Linked DNA regions of Homo sapiens: region 2 is linked to region 1. Evidence: promoter capture Hi-C in 16 types of primary human blood cells and fetal thymus (Javierre and others, 2016). All regions are on one chromosome and are shown on one strand. The core of a region is centred on a gene start or on the middle of the fragment in contact, and the rest is flanking DNA. Distances in the headings are between cores, read along the strand shown.

Evidence for each region. The method cuts DNA at HindIII sites, captures the fragments that hold promoters and counts their contacts. A CHiCAGO score of 5 or more calls a contact.
Region 2: a contact is called between a fragment that was not itself captured here and the fragment with the promoter of CA13 in region 1, in 6 of 17 cell types (M1 macrophages, megakaryocytes, endothelial precursors and 3 more). The highest score is 7.7, in M1 macrophages.

Annotation. Positions count from the first base shown.
Region 1 is chr8:85,242,757-85,250,441 of GRCh38, forward strand. CA13 (carbonic anhydrase 13) reads left to right here and starts at 2,702. Exons shown (of 7, transcript NM_198584.3): 1 at 2,702-3,109. The coding sequence starts at 3,073. LOC105375936 (a long non-coding RNA gene) reads right to left here and starts at 729. Exons shown (of 3, transcript XR_929126.3): 1 at 589-729. RefSeq lists a silencer at 2,957-3,036 and an enhancer at 3,397-3,506. The HindIII fragment of the contact is 11,713 bases long and covers 1-4,590 here.
Region 2 is chr8:84,622,956-84,630,640 of GRCh38, forward strand. The region is part of intron 2 of RALYL (RALY RNA binding protein like); the gene reads left to right. Among named protein-coding and RNA genes, the nearest start is that of RALYL, 440 kb to the left of the region's middle. RefSeq lists an enhancer at 3,199-3,493. The HindIII fragment of the contact is 3,405 bases long and covers 3,363-6,767 here.

The DNA.
Region 1 (7,685 bases), core at 1,452-3,951:
TGCAGTGAGCTGAGATCGTGCCACTGCTCTCCAGCCTGGGCGACAGAGAGAGACTCCATCTCAAAAAAAAAAGAAACAAAAGAATGGCTACTCCATAGACAGAGTTGCCCTAAGGGCAACTGGTTGTCTACTTTTTATGGTTATTTCTTGATTACATGCTAAACAAGGGGTGGATTATTCATGAGTTTTCTGGGAAAAGGGTGGGAATTTCCTAGAACTGAGGTCTCCTCCCACTTTTAGATCATATAGGGTAATTTCCAAATGTTGTCATGGTATTTGTAAACTGTCCTGGGGCTGGTGGGAGTGTCTTTTAGCATGTGAATGCATTATAATTAGCATATAATAAGATTTGAATGGAGTTGCTGTGGTTCCATTGCCTCTGACACTTCCACCCCATTCACACTCATCCTCTATAAGGAACTATTTTTATTAATTTATGGCTTTTTCTCTACTTTTTTGGTAAAAATCTGAAAATATGTGTGCAGTTTCTTATTTCTATTTTTTTCTTAAACATGCAGTCTATTATATACACTCTTTTGCTCCTTTGCTTCCCCCGCTCCCGCAACCTCAATACATCCCAGGACTCACTTTATATCTGCTCTGCTCATGGAGATCTTCATTCTTTTTATAAATGGACAATAGTCCATTGAATGGCAGCTGGGCGCAGTGGCTCACATCTGTAATCCCAGCACTTTGGGAGGCCGAGGCGGGTGGATCACCTGAGGTCAGAAGTTGGAGACCAGCCTGGCCAACATGGTGAAACCCCATCTCTACTAAAAATACAAAAATTAGCCACTAGTAATGCATGCTTGTAATCCCAGCTACTCTGGAGGCTGAGGCAGGAGAATTGCTTGAACCTGGGAGGTGGAGGTTGCAGTGAGCCGAGATCGCACCATTGCACTCCAGCGTGGGCAACAAGAGCGAAATTCCATCTGAAAAAAATATATATATATATAAGTCCATTGAATGATGGATGCTCTACAGATGACCTAACTAGTTTCCTATGAAAGGTAATTTGATTGTTGCCAATACTTAGGTTGCTGTTTTAGAAAATTATATAGACTGCGCTATGAATTTAAACAAGAAGGAACTTGAAACCACTACTGCAAAATTATAATTGAAACAGTGAAAGAGATTGGACCTAACCAACTCTATCTTATTTCTAACTTCTAAGCTGTCCTTACTCATTCTTAGGCATAGGCTGAACTAACTTTGAGGAGGAACATAGTTTATAGTTTAGAACAAAGACAATAACAGCCCTTTCCCAAAACAAACCTTCTTTCCTGGGGACTGGACCGCCTTTGCAGGACTAACAAATTAGCCAAAAGATTAGAAATTATGGTTTAGGAGTCATACAGCTGGAGGCTGTATGATTCTGACCCTCCCCAAATTGCTCCTGGGAATAACATCACTATTGTAAAGCCTAAGACCAGTGCTTCAGATATGTTGCAGACCCTGCACTGGATGGATCAGCAGGCACCACTCAGCTCGATAAACTGGCTCATCTGATCCCATGGCCCCCACCCAGGAACTGACTTAATGCAAGACAGCTTTGACTCCCTATGATTTCACCTCTGACCCAAACAACCAGGTCTCCCGACTTACTGGCTCTCCTCCACCCACCAAATTGTCCTTAAAAACTTTGATCCCCAATGCTTGCGGAGACTGATTTGTGTAATAATAAAACTCCAGTCCTCTGCACAGCCGGCTCTACGTGAATTTCCCTTTATGAATTGCAATTCCCCTGTCTTGATAAATCAGCTGTGTCTTGACAGTGGGCAAGGTAAACCCATTGGGTGGTTACAAACTGTGTACCCAAGCAATAAAAGTAACAATTTGGGAAGTATTTGAGACCCACCAACCAAAATTTCTTTAACAATTTTGGTCTATTCAGTCATTCATCCATTCATGTAACCACTATTATTGGGTGTCAAGAACTGATACTTACTTAGAACGTTAAGAGCATTATTCATCTTGACATACCAAATCATCCGAGTTACTGAAAATTGGTTTACTAGGTTCCTTACAAAGAGGTTGCTTGGATTTATAAAATATGAGGCAGTTGACCCGAGACAAGGACGTAGAAAGTGGTTCATGTACCCAATTTTTATTTTTCACTTTGAACCCAGAACATTCACGACTCCAGGCCAGAAATTCAAGACTCTGCAGCTAGTTCTGACTCCAGTCCTAGGGTAACAAGCCCACCAAGAATCCAGGGCAGATGTCCTGAAAACCCTTCTTGCGGGGTCAGGAGGGCAGCAGAATTTTGGGACCAAATCTCAACAACTGGTTTTGGTTTCCTCACTCACCAAGCCACAAGCCTGCAGAGTGAGAAGAGGTAAGGAAAGGATGAATGGGCAATGGAGCCAGCCCAGGACCGGGAGCTGGTCCTCTCTAACAGCGACCCCGCCCGCTTTAGCTGAGCGACCCGGGGCAGGTTACATAGTGTCTCTAACTTAAGCCACGTGTTTCTCGAGGAAATGCTGAGAGGATCTAATGGGAAAACGTGGGTACACGTCTTAGCTAAGACCCTCGCCCACGATAAGCCCTTAATAAGTAGTTATTTTTCAGTGGTGGTGATTACCATCGTCATTATTGTTTTGTATTTGTAATCATCACTGCCACGACCATCACCGACCTCTTTTACGCCTCCACCGGGATCCCCACCTCCCAGCCTGGCAGTTCCAGGCTCTGGTGACTCATTCACTTCCTGGAAGTCCTCTAGGCAACACTTTCCTCTCCCGAGTGACGACTCCTCAGAAGGCAGGAGATCCCCCCCGGAAACCTTTCTCTCTCCGTCTCTCCCTCTAACTCAAATCTCTCATTCCCGAGTCCAAACTAAGAGAGACTCGCGCCCCAGGAGTCAGCCAGCGGCGCGGGCGCCTTCCCCGCACGCCTCTGCCGTCTGGAGGACGCAGGCGGGAGCGCCCCGGACCGGGTTCACGGTCTCGCACTCCTGCCGCCGGCGCCCCGCGGTCCCGCCCTAGCAGGCTCCTTCCCGGGCCCCTCCCCGCTCCCTCCTCTTTCTCGCTGCTCAGTCACATCTTTCTCTTCCTTCCACCCCGAGGGACCATGTCGAGGCTCAGCTGGGGATACCGCGAGCACAACGGTGAGCGCCTTTTCCTGATCCAAGGGGGGGTTTGTGCGGGGGACGAGAGGACTAGCGCGACGCCCCGGCGCTCGCTGACCACACACTGGGCTCGCACATTGAGAAACTTTTTCGGTTCCTCTTTAAACTAAGCAGCACTCCTGGGAGCCCAGTGCGAGAAGCGGAGAGCAGTCTTGTCAGGGTAGACGGGTTGTTGGTGGTGGATGTGAGCGTTGGTGTGTGTTATCTCTGTCAGGATTCCCCAAACTCCCAAGTGTTCATACGTGTGAGTTCACCTTCATCTGAAAAGCCAAGGACTTTGCCTAGTAACAGCCACGTATCAATTACAGGCTTGGAGATCAGAAGTCTGATGACACACTTCAGTGAAATAAGGACAAGTTCGCTTTCAGTCTTTTAAGCTCACTATTCACTTAGGAGAAACAAATCATAGAAAATCTTTAAAAATATATTTAGGAAATCTTAACTTGCATTGTGACACTGAAGATTAAGTTGGCTTCGTGGCAAACAAAATACTGCATGTTTCCTAATAGTTGTTACTGTAAATATTCCCACAGCAATTTGCAGTTGGCTGACTACTACTGGGGACTTTAGTAAGGGTTCAGGTTCTCGCTGGGAAATTAAGTTACATTGTGGGTTACTTCTCCACTCTTCTTCTCCACGCTCATCCTTGCAGGGTGAGCAAAGGATTACTGAAATTATAATTCATTGATAGAAATGTATTAATAGGATAAATAATAATGACATACACTTTTCTTCTTGTATATCACACATTATCAAAAGTAAAACATTTTTTCTTGTTCCTACGTTAAACTGAACTGATTGTTTAAATAATAATTATTTGAAATAATCGCAGTGACACCAAAAAGCCTTATAGTGAATAACTGTCAAAATTAAGGCTTAGTTTAGCCATTCCTCAATGTGCATATATTTCAAAACATCATGTTGTACACATAAATATATACAATTTTTGTCAATTTAAGAAGTAAATACATAATAAAGAAAAAAATTAAGGCTGTGAATAATAATGCTTTCCTTCTATTAGCATGTACATGATTAAACAGTATAGAATGGTCAAATTTTATAGAAAGTTTAATTTCACAAACTAACAGAAAAATTCTATTTCTAATTGTAGCCTGTTTAATTTCTAATTGTAGCCTGTTTTTAAACATGCTAGTTTAAAAATGGCAGCAGGTGAAATTTATAACTTTAATAATAAAAGGTGTATAGTCAGATTTCTTCTTGATTAAGGCCATAATTATAATCTTACATTTTGCTAATTTCCAGTGAATGTTTAGGGGGAAAATATGACAAATCTTTTTTCATTTCCCTCTCTGCTGAAGTCGTTTTTATTGGAGTTATTTAATAGTCATTGAATCCCAACTGCGCCTTTATGGTAGTTAGGAAGAAGAAGGGTATTTCAATCAATCAATCAATGGATATTGATTACTCTTTAGTAGGTTAGAAATTATTCACCTGAATGAAGCTTATTTCAGCAATTTTAAAAATTCATCTTAGCAAAGCCATTAATAAGGAGTGATTTTGTATTTCTGTTAGGAATTGTTCTGTTAGGAATTAGCCATTCCTTTCTTTTAGATGCGATCTCTCTCTGAAGACCACATCCTTACTTAAAGGTGTGGTCTTCAGAGAAAGATTGGGAAAATCCTATTGGAAATGTATTATATACTAACTAGGCAAGTTTTTTGTTTGTTTGTTTGTTGTTTTTGAGATGAGTCTTGCTCTGTTGCCCAGGCTGGAGTGCAGTGGCACTATCTTGGCTCACTGCCATCTCCCTCTCCTGGGTTCAAGCGATTCTCCAGCCTCAGCCCCACCAAGTAGCTGGGATTATAGGCATGAGCCACCATGCCTGGCTAATTTTTGTATTTTTAGTAGAGACAAGGTTTCGTCATGTTGGCCAGGCTGGTCTAGAACTCCAGACCTCAAGTGATCTGCCTGCCTTGGCCTCCCAAAGTACTGGAATTACAGGCATGAGCCACAGCTCTGGGCCTAACTAGGCAAGTTTTTTGTTTTTTTTTTTTTTTCTGTTTAAACATTGGTAAACCAGTGACTGAGCAGATAAAAGGAAACTTAAGCTGGGAATAGCAACACTGATAAAATAAAACATCAAGACTTGAAGCCCTGAAAGGGTACTGCCTTCACAAATAACTTAGGATTCTTCCCCTAACCTTTGACTACTTTATTAGTTTAGTTTAGCGAATGTGACATCACTGAAAAGTGTATATCACTGTAGGTATTTAAAAGTTCCTAAATCAGTTGAGCAACCACCACATATCTCTAATTAAGAATTATGCTGGCTGGGCACGGTGGCTCATGCCTGTAATCCCAGCACTTTGGGAGGCCAAGGTGGGTGGATCACCTGAGATCGGGAGTTCAAGACCAGACTGACCAACATGGAGAAATCTCGTTTCTACTAAAAATACAAAATTAGCTGGGCGTGGTGGTGCGTGCCTGTAATCCCAGCTACTTGGGAGGCTGAGGCAGGAGAATTGCTTGAACCTGGGAGGCAGAGGTTGCAGTGAGCGGAGATCACGCCATTGCACTCCGGCCTGGGCAACAAGAGTGAAACTCTGTCTCAAAAAAAAAAAAAAAAAGAAAAAGAATTATGGTGGCTTGCACCTGTAATCCTAGCTACTCAAAAGACTGAGATGGGAGGATTGCCTGAGGCCAGGAGTTCCAGACTAGCCTGCAGGGTCATGGGGGGGACAAGGAGAAGGAGGAGAGGAGGAAATTTTTTTTGGAAAAATTGAAAAAGGGGACCTCTTTAAGAGGCAGGGTACTGAACTGACTATGGTAGTTAGTAGATAATATTGGGAATGTGATACAAACAATTATTACTTTTATTTTATTTTGGTTTGACTTCTTTTTAAAATAGTTCTGTTTATAAATGACTGGAAATAGGAGAGCAAAGCAATTAGGAGAAGAAAGCAACTCTATTGATTGGAAGAATGTCACCTGCATATTGTAACACATGCATTGCGCATTTGAAATTGAATTTTCGTTAGGTTAACTCTTACTTGGTGGCAGTGAAATAGAAGGCTTTTTCTGAATTAAGGGGGAAAAAAGTCTAGGTTATATATAGAAAAAGTACTCAGAAAGATGGTGAAAGTATTGAATAAAAAAGGCTTTTTCTGTAATACATTCTAAGCAAGGACTTCTGATGCTCAAGTGGCTTTGAAGTCCAGTTTGTCAGATGACATCTTTTAAGCTGAGTGTATAGTTATATATTTATGCTATGACTTTTTGTGCCTGAAGCATATATGAAAGAATGTATGTATGTGTGAGTTCTCTTTTGCAAAAATGAGGCATAGTAAGCAGTATCAGATTTAGAGTTTGGGCCAGGCGTGGTGGCTCATGCCTGTAATCCCAACACTTCAGGAAGCTGAGACATGCGGATCACTTGAGCCCATGAGTTTGAGACCAGCCTGTAGTGAGACTTTCAACAAAAAAAAGTTTTTTATAAAAGTAGCTGGGTGTGGTGGTGCACACCTGTACTCTTAGCTACTTGGGAGGCTGAGGTGGAAGGATTGTTTGAGTTTGGGAAGTTGAGGCTGCAGTGAGCTGAGATTACACCTCTGCATTCCAGCCTGGGTAACAGAGCAAGACCCTGTCTCAAAAAAAAAAAAAAAAGATTTAGAATTTTATGCTTTAAAGTTTGTTGATGATTGTGATATATTGCATTTCTTTAAATATTACTCTAAATTTTATCATTTTAAAATGTTTTTGGTTGTCGTTAGTAACAGGTTTAATTAATTGTCATGCTATGATGTTTTAATTAGTACTTGATTTTTAGTGAAAGATTGGTTAGCAAAGTAGGTGGGTAAACCTTAGTCAGTAGCCCAGTGTAGGTGGTGATAGCTGTATAAATTTCAGGAATAGTAGAGAGAATAAGAACCTATAACCTATAAAGTGACTCACATCTGTAGAATGACATGGAACTTACGTGAAACTACAGCTTTGCTGCTGATTTTGAGAGGCAAGACTTTATAGAGTCTTCCAAAGAAGTGAAGAGGATTGAAAAGGGAACTGTTAGCTGATTGGCTCGTTTCAATTTCCCTAACATGTCTGATTTGTGAACTTGATACGATTTTGACGTTTTTGAGTAGAGGACCAGGATGATACCTTTCTCTTGTGTTGAAATTCAAATGTAACATTGGCAAAATAACCATAGAAGAACCTTCTGAAATGAAGAAAGAGAGAAATAAATTACAATCTGACTCTACTGCAGATAATCAACAATATTACGTTTCCTGACGTGGTGCAGCCATTTTATTTGGATTATCCTAGGTGAAAAATTTGTGTGTTTCCTTGGTATGCCTGTTGCACATCACAGGTAATTGAGTGGAGGCCTGAGTGACACTAGACGATAGCATTGAGTGATAGAAGGAAGAATAAAGAAGTAAGCACAGCATCTTTAAGAATGACACCCTTTCTTTGCTTCATGGCTTTCTCAGCTTTTTTGACTCTTCCAATCTGCAAACTTGAACTCTGGAGCAATAGCTCATTTTTGGAGCTGAGACTGAATGTCATTGTTTTCAATGATGAGTTGTATTATTGTTTT
Region 2 (7,685 bases), core at 3,815-6,314, 620 kb before region 1:
TAGTCATGTAACATTTTCAGTGACTATCTCTTAAGGCATTGTGCACACCATACTGCTTAAAATTCAAGATCCTTGTGACTGAAAGCCAGTTCTGATTATAATAGACACAATTCTCAATGCTAAGTTCTAACAAATTAAATGTGTCCCTGAATGTGACAGTAAAACTTCTAAGTTTTATTCCATTTTCAAAGATTAGCTCAGTTCCACTTGTCAGCTGGGACATGCTGTTAGATTTGTTGTTTTATTGTATTGTTTAAATGTTCAGTGGGCACAAGTTTTTCATAGGTAAAGAATTAATGTGTCATGTTATCGTGACACATTAATTTTAGATACATCAGTCTAAAAGCATGAAAGTTTATTTTGATCCAGTTCACCGCATAAAATAATCACTACCCATTTTCACTTCAAAGGGCATATCTTGATATGTATAGAAGGATAGTGTTGAAAATAATTGTGTTTATGAAATTAATAAATCTCCAAAGTAGTGGTCCAAAAAATATTTTACCCCTTAGGTCATCCTACTGTCCTGTAAGTTACCAACAGTAAGTAGAATTAAATTTACATACTCTTAATATTGAGATGATTGCTGACCTTGAGAATAATTATTTTAGAGAGGTAGGGAGAGGAAGTTGTCAATTGGGGTGCATTAAGGGGAGAGTATGAGATGAGAACATGAAATGAAAGAATACAAACAGCAATTCGAAGAAGTTTTTCTCTAAATAGGAGCAGGAAAATCATGTGGGAGTTGATGGTGAGGAGGGATGTTGGTACAAATAGTTACCCTTTCACATGATGAGGACTATCACAAATATGCTGTGGGAAAAAAAGAGTGAGAGGAAAAAAAATTTAAAATATCCTTGAGCAAATCAAAGAGCATGGAATCCAAGCCTAAGCAGAAGGATTTGTTTCAACAGGAAGGGACCAATGGCCCCATCATGAACGTGGAAAGTCTGACCATCCTAGGTACATGAGGTTGGTAGGTCTGATAGTGGGAGATGAGATACTTCTCTTTCGACTGGTACTATTGTCTGTGTGAAATAATCACTTGAATAAACAAGTCTTGACAGAAAAGAGTTGAAGTTTTCACTTTGGGTTATTGTTAGTCTTTAGAGATCATCATATTCAACATCCCTCTCTGTCCAGGAATCAGATGAATAGTGCTCAGATATTTTGAACATGGCCATCCAGCAATGAGCAGCTTAGTTTTTCAAGGACAGCCCTTTCTGTGTTTAGACATCACTAATTTTTAGAAAACCTTTTCTTACTGTACTAGTTCTCTACTGCAGCTCTAACAAATTACCACAACTGAGCTGCTAGAAACAACCCAAGTGCATTATCATACAATTCTGTAAGTCAGAAGCCTAACGTGGGTTTTACTGGGCTAAAGTCAAAGTTTCAGTAAGTTTTGTGTTCCTTTTTGGAGGCTATAGGAAAGAATCCTTTTCCTTGTCTTTTCTGATTTTTAAAGGCCATGCACATTCCTTGGCGCATGGCCCCCTTTTTCATCTTCAATGCCAGCACCATTGCATCTCTCTGTGTGTTTCTGCTATGGTCATATCTTCCTCTGACTGACTGCACTTAGAAAAGGTTCTCTGCTTTTAAGGATGCATGTGATTAGATTGAGCACTTCTGGATAATCAGGACATCTCCCCATCTCAAGGTCCACAACCTTAATGCCATCTGCAAAGGCCTCTTTTTGTCTTGTAAGATTACATATTCACAGTCTACAAGGATTAGGACATGGACGTCTTTGGGGAACATTAGTCTGCCTACCACACTTGTTTTAGGTTTAAATCTTTTGCACACTGCCTCTTGACTTACCCTATCGAATTGTGAAACAAAATAGAGTCATTCTTTCCTTTTCCATAGAATAATCCTGTCAGATGTTTCAATGTAACCTTCAGGGGCTCTTGTCTTTTACCTCCCAAAATTTCTCCTAAACTTCTGTGCCCATAAGTAAACATAAGTCATACTGACATCATTGACATCATATAGTCTTTTTATACATATAGAGAAATGCATTCATAGATAATTTGAAAGTCACAGAGTACACAGAAACTGGAGTTTATTTGAATAGTGTTACAGTATATCTTAGAATTATGTCATAGTGTCCTTTTCAAAATATGAAAAACAAGTTTACATGTAAAATTATGTTGAAAAGAAAGTGATGAAACTGTCTTTCAAGCAAGTTGATTTTAATTTGGTTCAATTTCACAGTCCTTAATTGAACATTACTGGTACCTTATGAAACAATCTCTACCCTAATGACCTGGGGCTAATTGGGATGATGGGCACAAATGGTTTTATTGTATTATAGTAAATGAAATGATATAGTAATTATAGGATGCAATAGGAAAATAGCTTCGGGCAGAAGTAAAGAACTCTTCCTGGAATTGTCTCCTGTGCTAAATTTTAGTAGATGAGAAGTTAGGAAAGTGTACTGTATGGCAAGCACTTTCCAGACAACAGAAATAGAAGAAGTAAAAACACTGTGAAGCACCAAACATTATAGAGAGAGTGTATTTGGTAAGTATCAAGAAGCTCATGAATAGTACTAGTAGTAGCTTTAAATTCTGATTAGCATTTACTATTTATCAGCTAACTTTTCTAAGTGCTTTATTATTTTAACCTTCATAGAGATCCCATAAAGTAGATACCATAATTACCTAAATTCATTAGTTCAGGGAACTGAGGCACAAAGAGGTTAAGCAACTTGCCAACAATGTATAGCAAATCCAAGGTTTAAAACTCTGGAAGTCTGAAATCAAAGATTCTGTTACACCATACAAGCTCTCAGGATGACCAGAATATAAAGAATAAAGCAAAGAGTGGTGAATGATAAGGAATGTCAGCAGGAGTTTTTGTTAGAGCTGGAACCTTAACCAGTGGTGGAGGGGCTCCCTTGATGGGGTTAAACAGAAGAGTGTCATGGTCAAGTCACATGTCACTGTGGTTGTCATTGTGGTTGTGGTTATGTGGAGGGAGTGGGAAGTGATAAAAAGAGAAACACGCTAAAAGGTAATTCAGAGACAGGGGCACTTATCCAAGTAAAATATGACAAAAATATAGCAGAGTTAGCAAAGAAAAAAAAGGCTGAAAATGATAAATATTTAGGAAGTAAAATAACAGGATGTGATATTTGTATACAGGAGTATGTGATATAATAAAAATGAGATAAGAGATAACACTCAGTACTATAGTTTGACTTTTGAACTTTTGTAATTTACTAAGTTAGAGAACACTTAATAAGAGCGGAAAATACGTTTAAGTTGAACATACTGAGATAAAGCTGCATGTGAGAATTCCAGGCTGTGCCACTAGGCGGCGGCATTTGTGCGCCTGCATTGTGCGAATTCCGCCCAAGCTTTACTCTCTGCATGATTTGTCAGTGAAATTCTGAATGTCTAAAGACCTCTCATTCTCCACTTCTGTTGTATTATTAGTTTCTGACCACACGATGGAGTCATTTCTTCACATTTCCTCACACTGATTTTGTTTATTAAGAAAATCAATCCAGTCAAACACTAGCTGGAATAAAAGACATTTAAATTTTCAGAATATTCCTCTAAAAATTTAGGTTCTCTTTGACAAGGAACATAAAAATTAATTCAGTGAGTATTCAGAACCAGCTTCAGATTATTTAAAATGAAAATTGAGATTCCTGAAAAACATTAATTAATCCAGGAATATTGATTTTAAAAATTGTTTAGAGACACTGAAAAAGCATAAATATATAACTACTTGAGAAACTTTGTTAAGTCTGAATCAAATTTGGAATTCATTTAAAGCAGGTGATTGACTGTACACAAGTATATTGTCAAGCTGCATTCTATTTTGTGTATGATCCTGCCAAGTTTTAATAAATATTAGTCTTCAACCTTTAATCAATAATGTTTTAGAAGAGAGTAACAATAAATGGTATTGGTAGAGCACCTTACAGTTTGCTGCGCTTTCACAGCCTTATTTCGTGTGACACTGACAGACCAGTCAATTAAACCCCTATTCCAAGGAAAATGTAAAGAACTGATTCTAGACAAAGAAAAAATTAGTACTATTATCTCCCTTCACCTTACACATTTATACTGCCTCTGGTACACTCTTGCTCTTTAACAATGTATCTTCAATTTAATATCCAAAATCTGTTACAACGCTTTTAAATTACTGCAACAATAGAAGCATATGGTTCTTAACCTTTCAGGGTTGGATTGAATGACCTAAAAAGGGCTTCTGAAGTCTTCAACTTAGCATTCGTCTTTCCAGGTCAAATAATCCCTCCTATTTTTTCTCGCAGGGTGATCAGTCTTTTTGGAATGATCTCTCTCTTAGACCATGATAATTTTCCAGTTCTTTGTTCAGAATCTGGGTACCTGAAATCCCTATCCCAGATGATGTTTTTATACTAAGGCATAGCTGGGAGGAAGCCTCAATGGAAATACTGTCATTCTTAATTTTACAGTCATCTAGTGTGCCTTTCACTGCTCTCCAGAGAGAGGTCTTATCGAGTGGCTAGGATTCCAAATTCATGGACAATTTTCAGTTTTTATCTCCTAGGGTCTCTTTAATACATACAGCATTTCTTTCTTCCTGCAGAAGAAAGAAACACTTTCTTCCTGTGTTCTCCTAGATTTCTTCGTGCATTTCTGGCCACTCTTTCTCAGCTTCTTTTCCCCTGTCTCTTTCACTTCTTTCTCTGTATTCTGTTAAATACCAGATTTATTTCTCTAGCTCAGACCTATTCTATGAGCTGAGGTCTTATAGATAAAATTGAATTATTGATGTTTTTCACTTTCCCACCATAATGAATGATATGACCATCCATTCTTTCACTGTTCAAATGAGAAATCTCACACCCGTCTGTTTCCTCTCTCTTCTTTAATGCCCATATTTAAATTCAATCCTTCAATGTACCCTATCAAATCTATTTCAAATTGTACCCCACTAAATTCATGTCTATTTCCATTGTCAAAAGTTGATCCACTCTAAAATTCTCCATTTGGACCGTTATATTAGACTCCTGATTGCTGTTTCGTCTTTCTCTTTTGCCGTCTTTCAATCTATTCTCTGGAATCTCAAAGTAATCTTTTAAAAATATAAATACAACTAATGCCACTCATTGTGTAATACCTTTCAATGACTTACTGTTAGATGCAGAGTACAATCCTAACTACTAAACTTGATACAGTTTGGCTGGTATTTTTCGCTCCTCTTTTCTTAAGTAACTCTTTCCTCTTTTCATTATTCCATAGTCACCAACATTTATGCAACTTCTCAGCCCATGAATATTTTCTTCCTGCATTCACACATCTTAATTTTAATTAGTTCTTAGTTTCCCTGGCTCTTCCTCATCTTTCAAGTTTCAGATTTAGTAACACCTCCTCAAAAAGGCCTTCCTCACTCCCTATCCCATTATGATCCCCAATAGGCATGATTGTGTATTTTCTTCACGGTGCTTCCTAATTTGTGAACATTTATTTGCTTGTCTATTTCCCTTGTTAGAATATAAATTCCTTTGAGGGTAGACAAACTTACTTTTACCTACTACATTATTTAAGTCCTACAGAGTAGGTGATTATTAATATTCACCAAAAGAGTAAATGAATATATTTTTACATCAACTCATGTTGCAGTTAAATTCTGAAGAAATCATCACAGAAAATGGTAAGTAAAATCATAACATTTTGTTGAGAAATATCGGGGGATAGAGTGCTGATGGGGAGGACCATCACGGTAGGGTGCTGCTGAAGGAAACACCAAGTAAGAAGGGTGGATAGAGGGGCCTAGCAGGAATAACAGTAGCAGTCTCCATGAGCATCTACAATCTCAGATTGAAATACTGATGGAAGTTATTTTGGAAAATAATTTTTGTTTATTAAAACCAAAAATTGTTAATGGTAAAAAACAAAAATATTAATGGTGAAAGATCTTATTTCAGATGGTCTGTCCAGTAAAAAAAAATGTGGAGGATAATCTTTTGAAACAGATAATCTAATAGGCATAGATACAAAAAATAACTGCCATTATAGACATCTCAACTATCTGGATGCCTGATTGACTCAGCAAAAAGCACAGCATTTAATTACACCTAGAACCTTGACTCAGGATTATAATACACTGGAAGTGGCTACAGAAAATCTAGGCTGTTATTGAAATTGAATCCTCTAGGTGACTTCCCTAGTTTTTCTCTGTTGTGCATATCACCTTCTAATATACTAGGTATTTTATTTATCTGACTATTGACTGTCCTGCCTTATTGAATGTATGCTCCAAGAAGGCAGAAACCTTTGTCTATTTTGTTAACTTTAGTATCTCCTTCACCTAGATAGCAGGGGCTCAATAAACTTTTCTTTAATGGACAGAAATAAAAGTGACTACAATATTGTGCTGGAAATAATGTGAAAGTGTGGGAAAAATACTTCCAAAATGCATATATTCTGAGACTTAGATACTACTTCTGGGCATTCACCCTAGGAAAATAAGTGAGCAATACAAATATATAAGGATATTCATTGTGACACTTCTATAATAATAGTGAATAAGACTTAATCCTCAATAATGGCAGATTCATTAAACAAATTCTGGAAATTCCATGGAATGCAAACCTAAGCAAACAATGAAAATGGTACAGTGGAGATGTAAAGATATGTTACATATATTGCTCAGGGTAAATTCAGCTCATATGACAGAACAGTCTGTGTAATATGTATAATAATATACAATAGAGCATATATTTGTGTGTGTGTATATACACACAGTATTTCATAGACTAAAGCTTGAAAGGTTATGCACTACAATACTGAAAGTGGTTTTCAAGTGGAATTATGTGTGATTATTTTCCCCTTTTGTGTGTTTTCTAATTTTCCTACAATGAGTATGCATTTTTGGATGAAAAACCAAAAGGATATATGGTTTTCTAAGAGAAACTTTACTCCAGAAATTTTATAAATGACTATGCTGACATCCAAAAATGTTAAATGACATGCTAAAGGTCATGCAGCATTTTAATTTTCCTTTCAAAGAGCATCAACTCTGAGTAACTGAGAAAAGAAATAAGGGCTTGAAACTCCAAGCTTAATTCTGATTACCAAGAGAAAACATCATTTAAGCAAAGGGAAGTTTAGGACAATCAGGCTATATGATTTAGAATTTTTTCCAGCTAAGATTAGCACAACAAATGACAAAAATAATATTAAAAACAAAGATAGACTCTTAATTGGAAATGGAATTCAGAATGAGTAGAAGGCTCTGAAAATGGAATATTTGACATTACAAATGTTTCACTAATTAGTAACAGGAAAGCCACCCTAAATACAGCTTGGCTACCTAGTGTGCTCTCCAAAGAACTCTTAGTGTAACTGGGACCTACTAGTGTGGAGGGTTGAGTCATAATTCAGGACAGGTACATGAAGATAGCCAGGGAGGCCACCAAACTTTAAAAAACTTCAAACAACAACAAGAAGAAACCCTATATTCAACCAAGAAAAAGGGAAGTATGATGAGTCAGTTTGATTGCTTAGAATATGCATAGTTTCAAAAGGAATTTTGGGTGGGTAAGTGGGAAGGATGATGCAGTTTCTCCGCTGCTTCCATGTTTCTCCTCAATAATGCTCATCTTTAAATTAGGACGTTGAGGAAACTGAAGGCCCAAATGTTTTTTGGCCTCACTAAACTAGAAACTGTTAAATGAA